Regions from separate parts of the Homo sapiens genome. Here region 2 is linked to region 1. Evidence: promoter capture Hi-C in 16 types of primary human blood cells and fetal thymus (Javierre and others, 2016). All regions are on one chromosome and are shown on one strand. Each heading gives the region's core, a stretch centred on a gene start or on the middle of the fragment in contact. The rest is flanking DNA. Distances are from core to core; before and after follow the strand shown.

The links. Contacts are between HindIII fragments. The CHiCAGO score rates a contact against its expected background, and 5 or more counts as called.
Region 2: the fragment with the promoter of PPP2CA here is called in contact with the fragment with the promoter of HNRNPA0 in region 1 in 2 of 17 cell types (neutrophils and fetal thymus); the score reaches 8.9 in neutrophils.

The regions. Positions count from the first base shown.
Region 1 is chr5:137,751,927-137,758,645 of GRCh38, forward strand. HNRNPA0 (heterogeneous nuclear ribonucleoprotein A0) reads right to left here and starts at 2,437. Exons shown (of 1, transcript NM_006805.4): 1 at 1-2,437. The coding sequence starts at 2,140. The coding sequence ends at 1,223. RefSeq lists enhancers at 1,096-1,787, 1,197-1,356, 1,867-2,216, 2,478-3,169, 6,634-6,719 and a silencer at 2,797-3,156. The HindIII fragment of the contact is 5,253 bases long and covers 1-4,756 here.
Region 2 is chr5:134,222,092-134,228,810 of GRCh38, forward strand. It overlaps PPP2CA (protein phosphatase 2 catalytic subunit alpha), which reads right to left and starts at 3,982. Exons shown (of 7, transcript NM_002715.4): 1 at 3,669-3,982. The coding sequence starts at 3,770. MIR3661 (microRNA 3661) reads left to right here and starts at 3,666; the gene lies at 3,666-3,761. It overlaps PPP2CA-DT (PPP2CA divergent transcript), which reads left to right and starts at 4,319. Exons shown (of 1, transcript NR_186539.1): 1 at 4,319-6,719. RefSeq lists enhancers at 3,272-3,381, 3,721-4,240, 4,241-4,762, 4,762-4,921, 4,763-5,282. The HindIII fragment of the contact is 2,287 bases long and covers 2,905-5,191 here.

The sequences.
Region 1 (6,719 bases), core at 1,187-3,686:
TACAAGCAAATGTGTTAACTTCCAATTCTGCAAAGAATTTTGATGGCAAAACTTCCAAATCTGATGCAATTGTCTTAAGCAAGTTTTTAAACAAATTGTTTCGCAGCTACTCTGCCATTCTGCCAGTAGATGGTGCTACAAAGATCGGGAAAGGGATTTCCATGAGGCCAACAGTTCGGATATAGGAAAAAAAAAAAAAAAACGTTTAAACCTGCTCTGAAAGTACAAAAACGCATTTGAGGGTAAAATATAACCCTTATTTTTAACCATTCATTACAGACAAACCAGTAAGAGGGATGAAACTAGGCCATCTGAAAAATTTTAAACAGTTTATATGAATGACATGCTTAACACAAACTATATAGAACTACACAGTACACAGTTTGAAGTAAATTGTCATAGAAATGACCAACCATGTCAAGATGATAAACAATTCGCTTAGTACAAGAGATGGATGCACAGAAACTTAAGAGTTTAAAAAGCCACATCCACCACTTCAAAAGTTTTGCCTGTAAGGGATATAATTCAACACGCAACTAGCAGGGCAACAGGAGAGGGGAAAAAAACCACAGGACCTCTTAAGTTTCTCTAAGTACACATCAAGAATAAAGAATTAACACGTAAAGTCTTAAACAAATATCCCTTAAAAAACGGTACGGAATGGATCCTAGAAAAAAAATGTTAGACATGTACGGTCAAACACAATGATTTATTAAAAATAAAACGTAAAAATGATTTTTGTACATATGCTTCCAAATTTCAGGCATGGGATCCAAGTAGATTTCATAGAAAACGCTGTAGCCAGGTTATCAAGTCCTTACAACAAAGTAAACTACCCCCCACCCCAACCCCCACCCAGGTTTTGCTACAGAATCAGCAAGTTCACTCCCTCCCTCCCCCCAAAAAACACAAATTAAAACAAGACATTTTGCTAGTATAAAAACGACCAAGGTCCAAGTAATAATAAAAAAATAGAGTCCATCAATGACTGTAACACAAAAATGTGTATGTGGGGCCGAGTCCATCTTCAGAGGGAGAGACAAGAGAGGTGGCAGGCAAATAGAGGAACACCCCCAAGGGTAAGCAGCCTTAGAAGTGGCTCCCCCAAGGGCAAAACAGGGAAGGCGGTGTGTGTGAGGGGGTGGGGCTTAGGAGTTGACCCCACTTGGGCTGTTGGAAAGAGCTACCCCTATAGCCACTCCCAGGCATTTTAAATTTTCTTTTAGAAGGAGCTGCCTCCATAGCCACCCCCACCGCCATAGCCGCCTCTGTAAGGTCCACTATTACTGCGACCGCCCCAGCTACTGCCTCCACCGCCGCCGCCGCCGCCGCTCTTCATGGGCCCATAGGAGGACTGATGCTGGCTGTAGCTGCCGAAGCCGCCGAAGCCGTTACCGTAGTCGCTCCCACCGTAGGACGAACCGCCGCCGCCGCCTCCGTAGGCATTGTAGCCGCCGCCTCCGCCGCCGCCGTAACCACCGTAGCTGTTGTAACCGCCGCCGCCGCCCTTGGAAAGGCCGTTCTGGTCTCGACCACCGCCGCGCCCCCGGCCGCCTCGGCCGCCCCGGGAGGATCGGGAGCCGCCTCCACCCCCACCGGAGTAGATATCCTCCTTGGGGACTGCTTTCTTCACCTCCACGCGATGGCCCTGAATCGGATGGAACTTGACCACCGCGGCCTTGTCTGCCGCGTCGTGATTCTGGAAATACACGAAGCCGAATCCACGCTTCTTGCCGGACTGCTTGTCGGCAATAATCTCGGCCTTTTCCACGGTGCCAAACTGCGAGAAGTGCTCGATCAGGTCGCCCTCAGCCACGTCTCCTTTAAGGCCTCCGACAAAGAGCTTCTTAACCTTGGCGTGGGCACCGGGCCGCGCCGAATCCTCCCGGGACACCGCCCGCTTCAGCTCCACAGTGTTGCCGTCCACGGCATGGGGCGAGGCGGCCATGGCGGCGTCCGCCTCCTCCACATTGGAGTAGGTCACGAAGCCAAAGCAACGGGAGCGCTTGGTCTGGGGATTCACCACCACCACGCAGTCCGTCAGAGTCCCAAAGGCCTCAAAGTGGCCGCGCAGGCCCGACTCACTCGTCTGCACATTGAGGCCGCCGATGAACAGCTTACACAACTGAGAATTCTCCATCTCCAAGGCCCGGGCCTTGCCCCCGCCCTGCGAGCTCCGAGGTTTCGCCGTCGCCGCCGTTATCGTTGGTTAAGGCCTCTACACAGCTTGGGCCCAGCCGTTGCTGGAGCCACCCCCGCCGCTCACCGACGGGGAAGGGAAAAAGGGAAGGGGAGGGAAGGAAGGAAGAGAGGAAGGGGGAGGGAAGGGGAGCGGTGCCGGCTAAAGGGCGAGCCGAGGAGACTGGAAGACAACCAAGGCCACCGCTACCGCCGCCGCCGCCACCTCCGCTCCCCTATCTGGGCACCACACAAAGAGGCCGCTGAACGCGCGCGCACCCTCCCCGAGGCGTGCGTCACCGCCGACGTACGGCAGCCTAGGGCTACCAGCCAATCCCCGCCTCGCTCCCCTTAATCCCGCCTACCGCGCCGCAGCGCCGCTCTAGATCACGGACTCCCCGCCCTCCGCGGTCTATTCAAGCCCGCGGCCTGTGCCGCTCCCGCTTCCGCTTCTGCCAGCCCACTTTCATTCCCGAGCGCCCCACTGTCCCTTGACATGGGTCCCTCCCTGCCCTCCGCGCACCACCGCGATTCATTTCCTCCTAGCACCGCGGCTGTTCCCAGTGTTTCTCCCCCTCCCCTTTACTCATCCCCTCGCCCAACTCCGCAGTGGCGTTCGCGCCAGCCCCTTGAGAGACATCTGAGTTCAGCCAATCACCGTGATCCCCTCGCACCCACTTCCGTTTTCGGCAGCTGTTGGACGGGCGCGCTCCCCGGTGCGCGCTTGCCCCGGCGCCCCCGGCGTGCAGAGCCGGCCTACCACCCCCGCGCCTTCTCCCGCCCAGGGCTTTGCCGGGGAGAGAGCAGGGGGCGCGCTGGGGGCCATTCCCAACGGATGCGGTCTGGGGCGCCACGCGCGGGCTTTTTGAAAACTTGACTGTTGGGGTTGGGGGCCCGGATCTACCCGCCGCCTCTCCGCTTGTCCGCTACACCTGGCGTCCCCGCCCCACCTCCCGCCCGCACAAAGATGGAGGGCAGAGGCCTGGTCCACGAAGGCGGTTATTAACCGTTTACAGTGGGCCCGACGTGCGGTTAAACTAAAACTTTGCCACGTGGCCCTGCGCAAAAGCGAGCCCGAGGCGGCGGTGTGAAAGACAACAGGGAACCAAAAGAACTTCAGACATTAGGAACCAGACGAGGCGCGACATCCCTGCCTCCCTGCCACCCTCCCGCCCTCCTTGAAGCCCTCCCACGATGCCCTCTCAGAGGAGGCCCTTTCAGGTCCCCTTGGCACACTCCAGCAGACATTTTCATTTAACCTCAGTGAATGGTTTTTTATGTGTAATTTACATCATCTATGTGTTGCTTTCTTTGAACTAGAATGTTAGCTTTTTTGTTGTTGTTGAGATGGAGTTTCACTCTTGTTGCCCAGGCTGTAGTGCACTGGCGCAATCTCGGCTCAGCAACCTCCGCCTCCTGGGTTCAAGCTGTTCTCCTGCCTCAGCCTCCTGAGTAGCTGAGATTACAGGCGCCCACCACCACACCCGGCTAATTTTTGTATTTTAGCAGAGATGGGGTTTCACCATGTTGGTCAGACTGGTCTCAAACTCCTGACCTTAGGTGATCCATCTGCCTCGGCCTCCCAAAGTGCTGGGTTACAGGCGTGAGCCACCGCGCCTGGCCTAGAATGTTAACTTTGCTTTTTTTTTTTTTTTTTTGAGACGGAGTCTTGCCTAAGCTGGAATGCAATGGCACGATCTTGGTTCACTGCAACCTCCACCTCCCGGGTTCAAGCGATTCTCCTGCCTCAGCCTCCCAAGTAGCTGGGACTACAGGCGGGCACCACCACACCTGGCTAATGTTTGTATTTTTAGTGGAGACGGGATTTCACCATGTTGGTCAGGATGGTCTCAAACTCGTGACCTAGTGATCTGCCCGCCTCGGCCTCCCAAAAGTAGAATGTTAGCTTTTTAAAGATGTTGGGTTAGACGAATGTTTTACAGAGAGAGAGATCATATACCCCTAAGTTACTGCTTTTAGTGCCCTCACTCAGATGGGAATGGAAGAAAATTACAATGGCTTCCATTTATTGAGCCTTTGTGTGCCAAGCAAGATAAATGGGGTGGGACATAGTTAATATGAGGCATTACGTGACCAAAAGCCTCCAAAACCATATGGTAAACGCTGAAGAAGTTAAGAGGAATTCCTCACTGTATCCTCAAGTATTCAGGAAAGATTTAGGAAAGAATTGGAAGTTGCACTGAACCTCAGAGCCAAAGACTAGTTAGTATCCTAAGCAAATTAAGGCTGGAACAGAAAACCAAATACCACAAGTTCTCACTTATAAGTGGGAGCTACACATTGAGTACACATGGACACAAAAGAAGGGAACATTAGACATCAGGTCTTTTTTAAGGATGGAGGGTGGGAGGAGGGTGAGGACTAAAAAGCTACCTATCAGGTATTATGCTGATGACTTGGGTGACAAAATTATCTATACACCAAACCCCCAAGACTAACAATTTACCCACATAACAAACCTCCACGCGTATCCCTTGAACCTAAAATAAAAGTTGGAAAGGAAAAAAAAAAAGATTTCTGTAGGGAGTTTATTTGAGCAAAATCCAGAGGGAACATAAGCTTCAAGAGACAGGGAGTGGGCCAGTTAGTTTGAGAGAAGCAGGCAGTTTTAGATAGAAAATAGTGAGAGGTAAGATAGGTTGAGGGTCTTTGGTACTATGAAATGATACTATGGAATGTGCTGAATCTTAGGTTAAGTAGTTTGGATACTGTAACAAAGGTAAATAGATGGGCTAAGGTTTGAGGGTAAACTAGTCTGATCTATCACTTACCCTGTAACCATTCAGTTATGTGACTTTGGCTAAGTTACTTAACCTTTTAAAAAAATGTAATCAGTTTTATTATCTTAAAATGGGAATAATAAAACATCTTTCTGTTGTAGTGAAAATTAAATAAGATTCTACATGTAAACATGTATACATGCCTGGTACACAGTAAGTGCTCAGTTTATCCAATTATATGAATCCTATGCCTGGTGCTGGCAATATGGCTGTAAACAACAGACAAAAACCTCTGCCCTCATGATGCTTACATTCTAGTGGGAAGAAGCAGACAATAAACAAATAAGAGTGGTATATGGCATGTTAGATAGTGATAAATGACATTAAAAAAATGAAAGAGGACAGTAGAAAGCTATTAACCTTGTTATTACAAAAAAAATTCAAATGTCAGGATTTGCCTATTGATAATAAAGAAAGGGGAAAATGGGCTGGGCACAGTGGCTCGTGCCTGTAATCCCTGCACTGTGGGGGGGCTGAGGCAGGCGGATCACTTGAGGTCAGGAGCTCAAGACCAGCATGGCTAACAAATTGAAACCCCGTGTGTGGTGGCGCATGCCTGTAGTCCCAGCTACTTGGGAGGCTGAAGCAGGAGAATTGCTTGAACCCAGAAGGCAGATGCTGCTGTTGTTAGCTGAGATGGCACCACTGTTTCAGAGTCATCCAAATCTTAAAACAGTAAAAGATGAACTCCTGAAGGAATAAAGACCATAACTTATGAAAACTGTTACTTTAGGAATTTACAATTTTGGTAGATAGTTTTTGCCTACATTGTTTTTAAATAATAGTTTACCAGCAGTGCCCAACTTTTCTGGCACAAGAGACCTATTTTGTGAAAAACAATTTTTCCACAGACCAGGATGTAGTTTCAGGATGATTCAAGTGCATTACATTTAATGTGCACTTTATTTCTATTATTATTGCATCATAATATTCAATGAAATATAATAATTATACAACTCACCGTAACGTAGAATCAGTGGAAGGCTTGAGCTTGTTTTCCCGCAACTAGCCGGTTCCCATCTGGGGGTGATGGGAGACAGTGACACCCGAAGTGTGTTGCTTATGTCCAGTTTACTCCATAATCTAGTTTTGGTTGCTGTCACTGCAGAAAACCCTGCTTCACAAATATAGGATGCTGGAAATGGAAGCAGGCTTTTCAGTGCTTTTGTGGCAATCTCAGGATATTCCATCCAGAATGTATGGAGATTTGAAGTTGTCTCAAACATACAAGGCTGCCGTCACTTGCAATCTCAAGCAGTTGATCCTCTTCTAGTATCGACAAAGTCAATTCTTCTGGCTTATTCACAAATGGGTGGTGGATCCATTCCTTCCCAGCTCAGGGATTTTTTTGTGGTTGGCAAGTAAAGCTCAAACTCTTTTGAAAGCTGAGCTAGGTGATCATGCAGCAGCTGGGAGAAAGAAGGCGTTGGCTCAGTCACTTTCAAAATCTCTGCTAATGTTTGAAACATGTCAGAAATCCCAATGTTCACTCATCGCCCCCATAACTCCAGTTTGGTTTTCAATGCAGCCCCTTTATCTGCTGATTTGAACACAGTTGTCATTCTCCCCTGAAGTGACAGATTGAATTCACTGAGCAGGTTGAATGTGTCACACAAGTAAACAAGTTTTGCCACCCATTCTATGTCACTGAAATGTGCTGCTAGTGGTGACTGTTTTTGTAAAAGAAATCTCTGGAGTGGCTCTCATAACTCAAAAATTCTGGCCAGTTATCTACCTTTA
Region 2 (6,719 bases), core at 2,732-5,231, 3.5 Mb before region 1:
GCAATACCAGAACATTAGGCTTAGAATCCACAAGCCTTGGCAATCTCACTTTTAGCCCCTTTAGTCAAGTCACTTTACCTTTCTGAGTCTTTGAGTTGCATCTGTAACTGAGAACAATATCTTATAAAAGTATGATAAAAATAATGTTCTGTAACATGCTTCCCCCACCTGCTTGTCCTCAATATTCAAATCACTTCTAGAGAAATGAGCCAAACACCCTTTAAAATGAAACGTACACACATACTCACAGCAACATATTACCCAATTCATATAAGAATGTCATCTTGGTCAAATATTTTTCAGCTCATCTAATTAGAAGGAAGCAGTTTGTTTTTTCCATACTCACGTAACAAATGTTAAAACTAACATTTTAATGACTAATGACTGCACTTTATTTATAGTGCTTGCAAAGCAATGGAAAACAGCATACCTAGGTAAAGAACTTCTTTGAAAAAAAAAAATCTGGCTATCAAACAACGTTCTCCACATGTTTGGTAAGCACAAAGCCAAGAAATCATACCCAAGCTAAAACAAAGCTGAAGTCACATAATAAAAGATTGTTTACTGTAGTCAATGCAAAAGCAAGTTGATACTATTTACTCCTTTCAATCTGTAGATTGAAACATACCCGGCCAGTTATACTGATGTAATGCTGATTATAGAACTGAGCCTGAGGCAAAGCTGCACACCAAATTATTAAACTATCAACAAATTATGATTCTCAAGATGACAAAGTATACTATACACTAACAACCTTGGCTTTTGTATAAGTCTTAATCACATCTTAAAATTCTTTTTAGCTAGTCAGTAACATAAAAACCATGTTCACTCTTGTCTTTTATAAATGCATACTTAGATTCTCTCAGTTCTGAACATGTAACACTGTTAATTGTTGATGGGTTAACAAAATAATGGCCTCAGGATTTTTTAGTAACAATGACCTCTTATGGTATACATCTATTTTTACTATTTAAATATTTCCCCTTCAAATCAGGCATTTAGGTGGGTAGAAGGAAGGCTTTTACATTATCATTCCTTCTTATGATTGAAGAAATTATCAACTATTAACAAGTATCTTTTTTCTCAAAAAATACTATTATTATACACTAATGAAAAAAATTAGCCCTCAAATTTTCAAAATTACTCTTTAGAAGGCAATCACACCAAAAAGCACATATGTAGCTTTCACCCAGAGATGCCATTGGCACACAAATATTAACAGTGAAAGACAGCTTTTGTTTTACTAGAAAGACTTGTACAAAAAACATCAGTTCATGGATTCTACATACCCAAAAAACTGTCTTCAAATTAATTTAGTTTGGAAGTTTAATATCATCCTGAAAGTTGAAATACTTACTTACCAGTTATAAACAGTATGAAGGTTGTATAATGATATCCACCAAAACGGATCCATTCCACAGAAACTTTTATATAACACCTACTCTCAAATATTATTTCCATCTTTTTTGGCACTCAGAACTAAAATTTGCGTAAGCAGCGCAAGCAATGGAGATTTACCTCACTACATCTTAGTTTTACAAAGATGTGGAAAGCAATATTAGATGCATCAGCTTCACCCACCCCACTCTAGCATCCAGTATTATCTTATCTTCTACAACAGTTTCCAACACAAACCCTCTACTTCCATGCTCCATCTCCCACACCTTTTCATACCATGCTTTTCTTTCAAACTAGATTCATAGCTCCTCGACAATAAGCATACTTATTCTTCATTGCTTTTCATTTCCCTCAAAAGAGTATGCAATCTTAGATATTCAATAGATGTTCAATATTAAACACACTACTAATTTAAAACGGAATTGACTGTATAATCTCAGAACACATTTTAGTTTATAGACAGGAAAACAAGGACAAGTGAAGTGGCTGTCCCAAAGTCTGTCACAATTACTCAAGTAAGAGCAGAAGGACTCATGTCCAAATCTAACTCGCAGTCCAGTCTTCCAGTTACGTCATTACCTCCCTCCTTTCCACGTTTTCTTCAAAAGACTAGTCAACTGGCCAACTACTGACTTAAAAGTCTTTCATATAATGCACTGAATTCCAAAAATCGGTAAGATCATCATGTACAGTACCTAGAAATTAAGACCTGGCAATATACATTCATTTTTAAAGGCCAATTTTAAACCTTTAAAATAAATACCAACCTCATTTGACGTGAGAGGGTAAAGAAACAGGAGATTCAATACATCGCTACCATTAAAAGGCATCTCCAACAGATGATGTGCCACCTCATCCACTAGTAGTAGTTTTGTTCAGGCTTGGGAGAAACAAATCTAAATCTGACTTACTTAAATTCCAATTGTTCACAACATGGTTTCTAAAAAAGCCTGTCTTGGAAACATATACGTCAAACTCATGAACCTAATTTTCACATCAAACCAGAAACAAATCAGGATAATAGTTCTCCATTAATTCTTTTCACGGATACAAAATGCTAATATGATACTCCACTATTCTGTACTAAAGTGACGTGCTGCAAAGTTAATTTTGAAAAGGGAAGTTAAAATGTTCACAGCAGAGATCAGCATTTTGTGTACTTTAGAAAACTGAGTTACAAGAATTTAAAAATACAACACAAAGCTAATAGCTAAATTAACTACCTGTTTCCCCAACCCCCAGGGGAAAACAAAAGGGAATTAGCTAATATAAAGTTTAGTGTTACTAAGTGGACTACAACATTCTATTTTCAGTGTATGTGAGACATTATTTAAACACTAAGCACAATGTCTGGAATACAATCTCAGTCGACAGTTATTATCACTACTACTACTTGCAGCCACAAAATACTATCAAGTAATTTTTGCAACAAAGATACAAAATTTACCGCTCTTCCATTTTATGTTGTTCATTTTAAAAATAAACGGCAAAATGCCAAGTGTGTTAAGCTTAGAGAAGGCTTTGAGTCAGCATATAAATCATATTCAACCGACACTTGATTTCCAATCCAAAAGCTCCTTATGTAGTATGACTCACCAAATTCCCGATTTCTTCCAACTATGAAAAATAAGTTACACTCCTCCCTTATAGCTACCACCATGACCTTCGTAAAAATTAGGTTAAGAGAATAATTTAAAAATTCTTAAAGACACCCCTTACCTTGATTTCTGGAGAAGATCGCTTGGTGAGTTTAATACAAACCACCAAGGGGTACTAAAGCTGTGTGACCTTTAGGTATGTTCTGGGATACGGCCTAACAAGACTGCCTTTGGGGGATCCTCTGGGCAGCTCTGGACCTAACTAGGCCTGGGTACCAGCGGCAAGACTCTTACTCAGCCCACCGGAGAGGCCCAGGCTCCATTCCCAAGCCGCAGAATCCAAGCCAGCTCACCCTCAAAACCGTCCCTGACGATGACCCACAGGGTCTCCGCTCCCCCTGCCACCTCGTCTGGCGCCAAGGCCGGCTGACTCAAAAGCCCAGGAGTCGAGTGAACGGCGCCATTTTAGGCGGCGGCGGCAACCAATCCCTGCGCGGGAGGCAGGGGGCGCCGGGTCGTTAGGAAGCCGCCGCCGGCCAGGATGGGCGCCGGTCTCGGAGACTCGGGGGGCCCGGACCGGCGGCCTCCGCCATGTTGCACCCTCCTCACGGCCGCCTTTTCCTCGGCGGGCTCGGCCCCGCGGCGGCTGTCCGCAGCCGTACTACAGCTCACCTTCTCGCAGAGGCTCTTGACCTGGGACTCGGACAGCTGCTTGCACTCGTTCAGCTGCTCGATCCACTGGTCCAGCTCCTTGGTGAACACCTTCTCGTCCATGATGCCACCCGCCCCAGCCGGCTGCCGCTCCGCGCTGCTCCCGCGCCGCCGCCCGCACACGGGCCTACACGCACACGCCGCCGCCGGTTCCTCGTGTACTTCTGGCGGCTGTTGAGGCTGGCGCTGGCCCGCTGGCTCTCACCGCAGTACTCGGCCGTCGGCCGCTGCGCCTCCTCCTCCGCTCGCTGAGGCTCCAGAGCTCGGCTCTCTGTAATGGCGGCCGCCGGGCGTGGTGACGTCACGCCCGGCGTCAGGAGGCGGCGGGGAGCGGAGGGGAAAAGGGCCGGGGAGCAAGCTGCGCAACTGCAGAGCCCTCCCCGGGCGGCCGCACGACCGGAGTTGGGGCGCAAACTGGGGGTCAAAGCGCAGGCGCGACGTAGCCGGCTGGTAACTGAAGCGCCTTGACTTTTTGGGCGTGGCTCCCGGAGGGCGGGGTGGTGGGGGAAGGGAAGGATGGAGCTGGAGCATGCGCAGTGCGCACAGCGGCGAACCGGACTAATCCCTGAGCACTATTCCAGGAGAGGCGAGGGCTTGGGCCGCGCGCAGGCGCAGACCGGATGGAAGCCGGGGCCACTGGCAGCCTGTAACTGGTTCCCCTGGGAAGGCCGCTCTGGTGATGAACTCAGCTCCTCACCTGGGGCCTGGCAGTCCGATCACGGAAACGAGAATTGCGACCCCGTGGCTCATCTGGGGTGCTGCGGCTCTGTAATCGTGTGGGTTTCCGTCATCTTTGGGGGCAGGAACGGGCAGCGAGTGGCCGCTTGGATTAACCACCCCCACCTCTGGGCGCGGCTGGCACCTTGTAATTAGGTCACTCGTAGGTGGAGGAGCGTGTACCTACCGGGGGAGTGCTGCGCAGTGCACCTGACTTCCGCGGCACACACCCGTCCCCGGACCTAGGTGTCTCGTCGGGCGCGATGGCGGGGGCGAGGCTTGGGCTTTTCTTTGGGCCTCGGACCGCGGCTCGCTTCCACGCGCCCCGCTCCTCGCCGGTGGTTGCTTTCCTCCAAGTTTAATTCTCTCTGGGAATGAGAGACCCTCAACCCCTGCGCGCCCTGGCCTACTTTCAAGAGGGGAAGCCCAGAGAAGATGGATGCACCTGTCCTGACCGCGTCTCGGTGGCGTGAGAAGCAGCTGTGATACGTGCTTAAAAGAGAGAGCTCGTATACCCTAGGATTGGACCTCTGTCTGGTTATGAATCGCTTTGGAGTTTGCGAAACGTTTTCACATTCCATTGTCCCTGCTTTTACATAAATATCTGGTTCCATAGAGCGCCAGCTATATGCCAGATCCGGAGGGGTCATCCAGACGGACCAGGGACCATGCCCTGGAGCTTGTATTCTCCCAACAGTACTGGCTGAAGATGGTTTGGGATAGGCAGAAGAGAGATCATAATGCCCCCAGGATTTGAAAGATATAGAAGCTTTCCAAAGAACATTTAACCATAAAGGGCAAGGCAAGAGCTGAACCTGATCGCCTGTCTTCCAGGAACCCCACCCTCAGTATCAGGCAACCCTTCCACACCCAAGTGCTCAGCGATGCTTGGGAGGAGACTGCTCACTCTGCGGCTCTGAGGGCATCATCCCCACCAACAGGCTGAAGAAGGCACTGGAGGCCCCATCAGCCAATAGCAGGACTGAAAATCCTCCTTTATCCAAGACAACGTGTTTGGCAAGGCCGACTGGCTTGGCCTCCCTAGGCTGGAAATTGCAATTCTGCTTTCCCTTCACACCTCCCATTAGTGTGCACAAAAGAAAGTACCTTAAATCTACTCTTCTAGAAGTCTTATCACATACTTAATTTACCAGACTGGGAAAAAGACCCTTTAGCCCAAATTCTGTCCCTGTTTTGCAGTTAACATCCCCAAACAATAGAAGGGTAAGAGTTAAGACCAAGTGGAATGAATAAGGAAAAAATCATCACTTAGTGCCCGTGATTATAAAGCCATACCCAGTGTGCTGTCTAATCTTATTCTTTACCGTTGCCATGAACCTGTGTGAGAACTGTCTGATGGGGCAAGAAGCAGACAGGCACTCAGAAAAGAGAAGGGACTTGCCTAAGATAGTGGTCAGGATTTAAAACTGCACACTCCCAAGTACAAAGTCTCAGCCACAGTCATGCAGTTGACCTTCCAAGGTCTGACATATGGAACAGAATCAACATTATTTCTCTTTGCCTAGATTCTCTCTCTTTTTTTTTTTTTTTTTTTTTTTTTTTTGAGCCAGAGTCTCACTCTGTTGCACAGGCTGGAGTGCAGTGGTGCAATCTCGGTTCACTGCAAACTCTGCCTCCCAGGTTCAAGCAAATCTCCTGCCTCAGCCTCCCAAGTAGCTGGGATTACAGGCACCCGCCACCATGCCCGGGTAATTTTTATATTTTTAGTAGAGACGGATTTCGCCACGTTGGCCAGGCTGGTCTCAAACTCCTGACCTCAGGTGATCCGCCTGCTTCAGCCTCCCAAAGTGCTGGGATTACAGGTGTGAGCCACCGCACCCAGCCTGCCTAGATTCTCTTACCTGGAAAGGGTGTGGTGATGTTAGTTTGATAGATGATGAAGTATTGAACACCCACTGTGTGCTAAAATTATGAGTTTTTCCAAAGTACTGTGAGCCCCTTGTTGGTAGCATTAATGTAGGTGTTATTTATTTTCTCTTGATGCAGATTACTTGGCTCACCACCATCACAAAATGGAGGGAAGATATAATAATTATATGTACTTAAAACATCCTGCCAAATAATTAAATGCCATGACTTAACTTCTTAAGGAATGAATTCTAGGAAGCTCTTAGCATCAGACAGTGAAGTAAAGCATACATGATCATAAACAATACAGAAGTAAATTAATCAGGATATATTTTTCTTTAGAAGAAATTCAGATTGTGTATTCTGTAGAACAAAATATCTAATGGACATGAAAATGAAAATTCATTTTGACTTATCTGGTCTTGA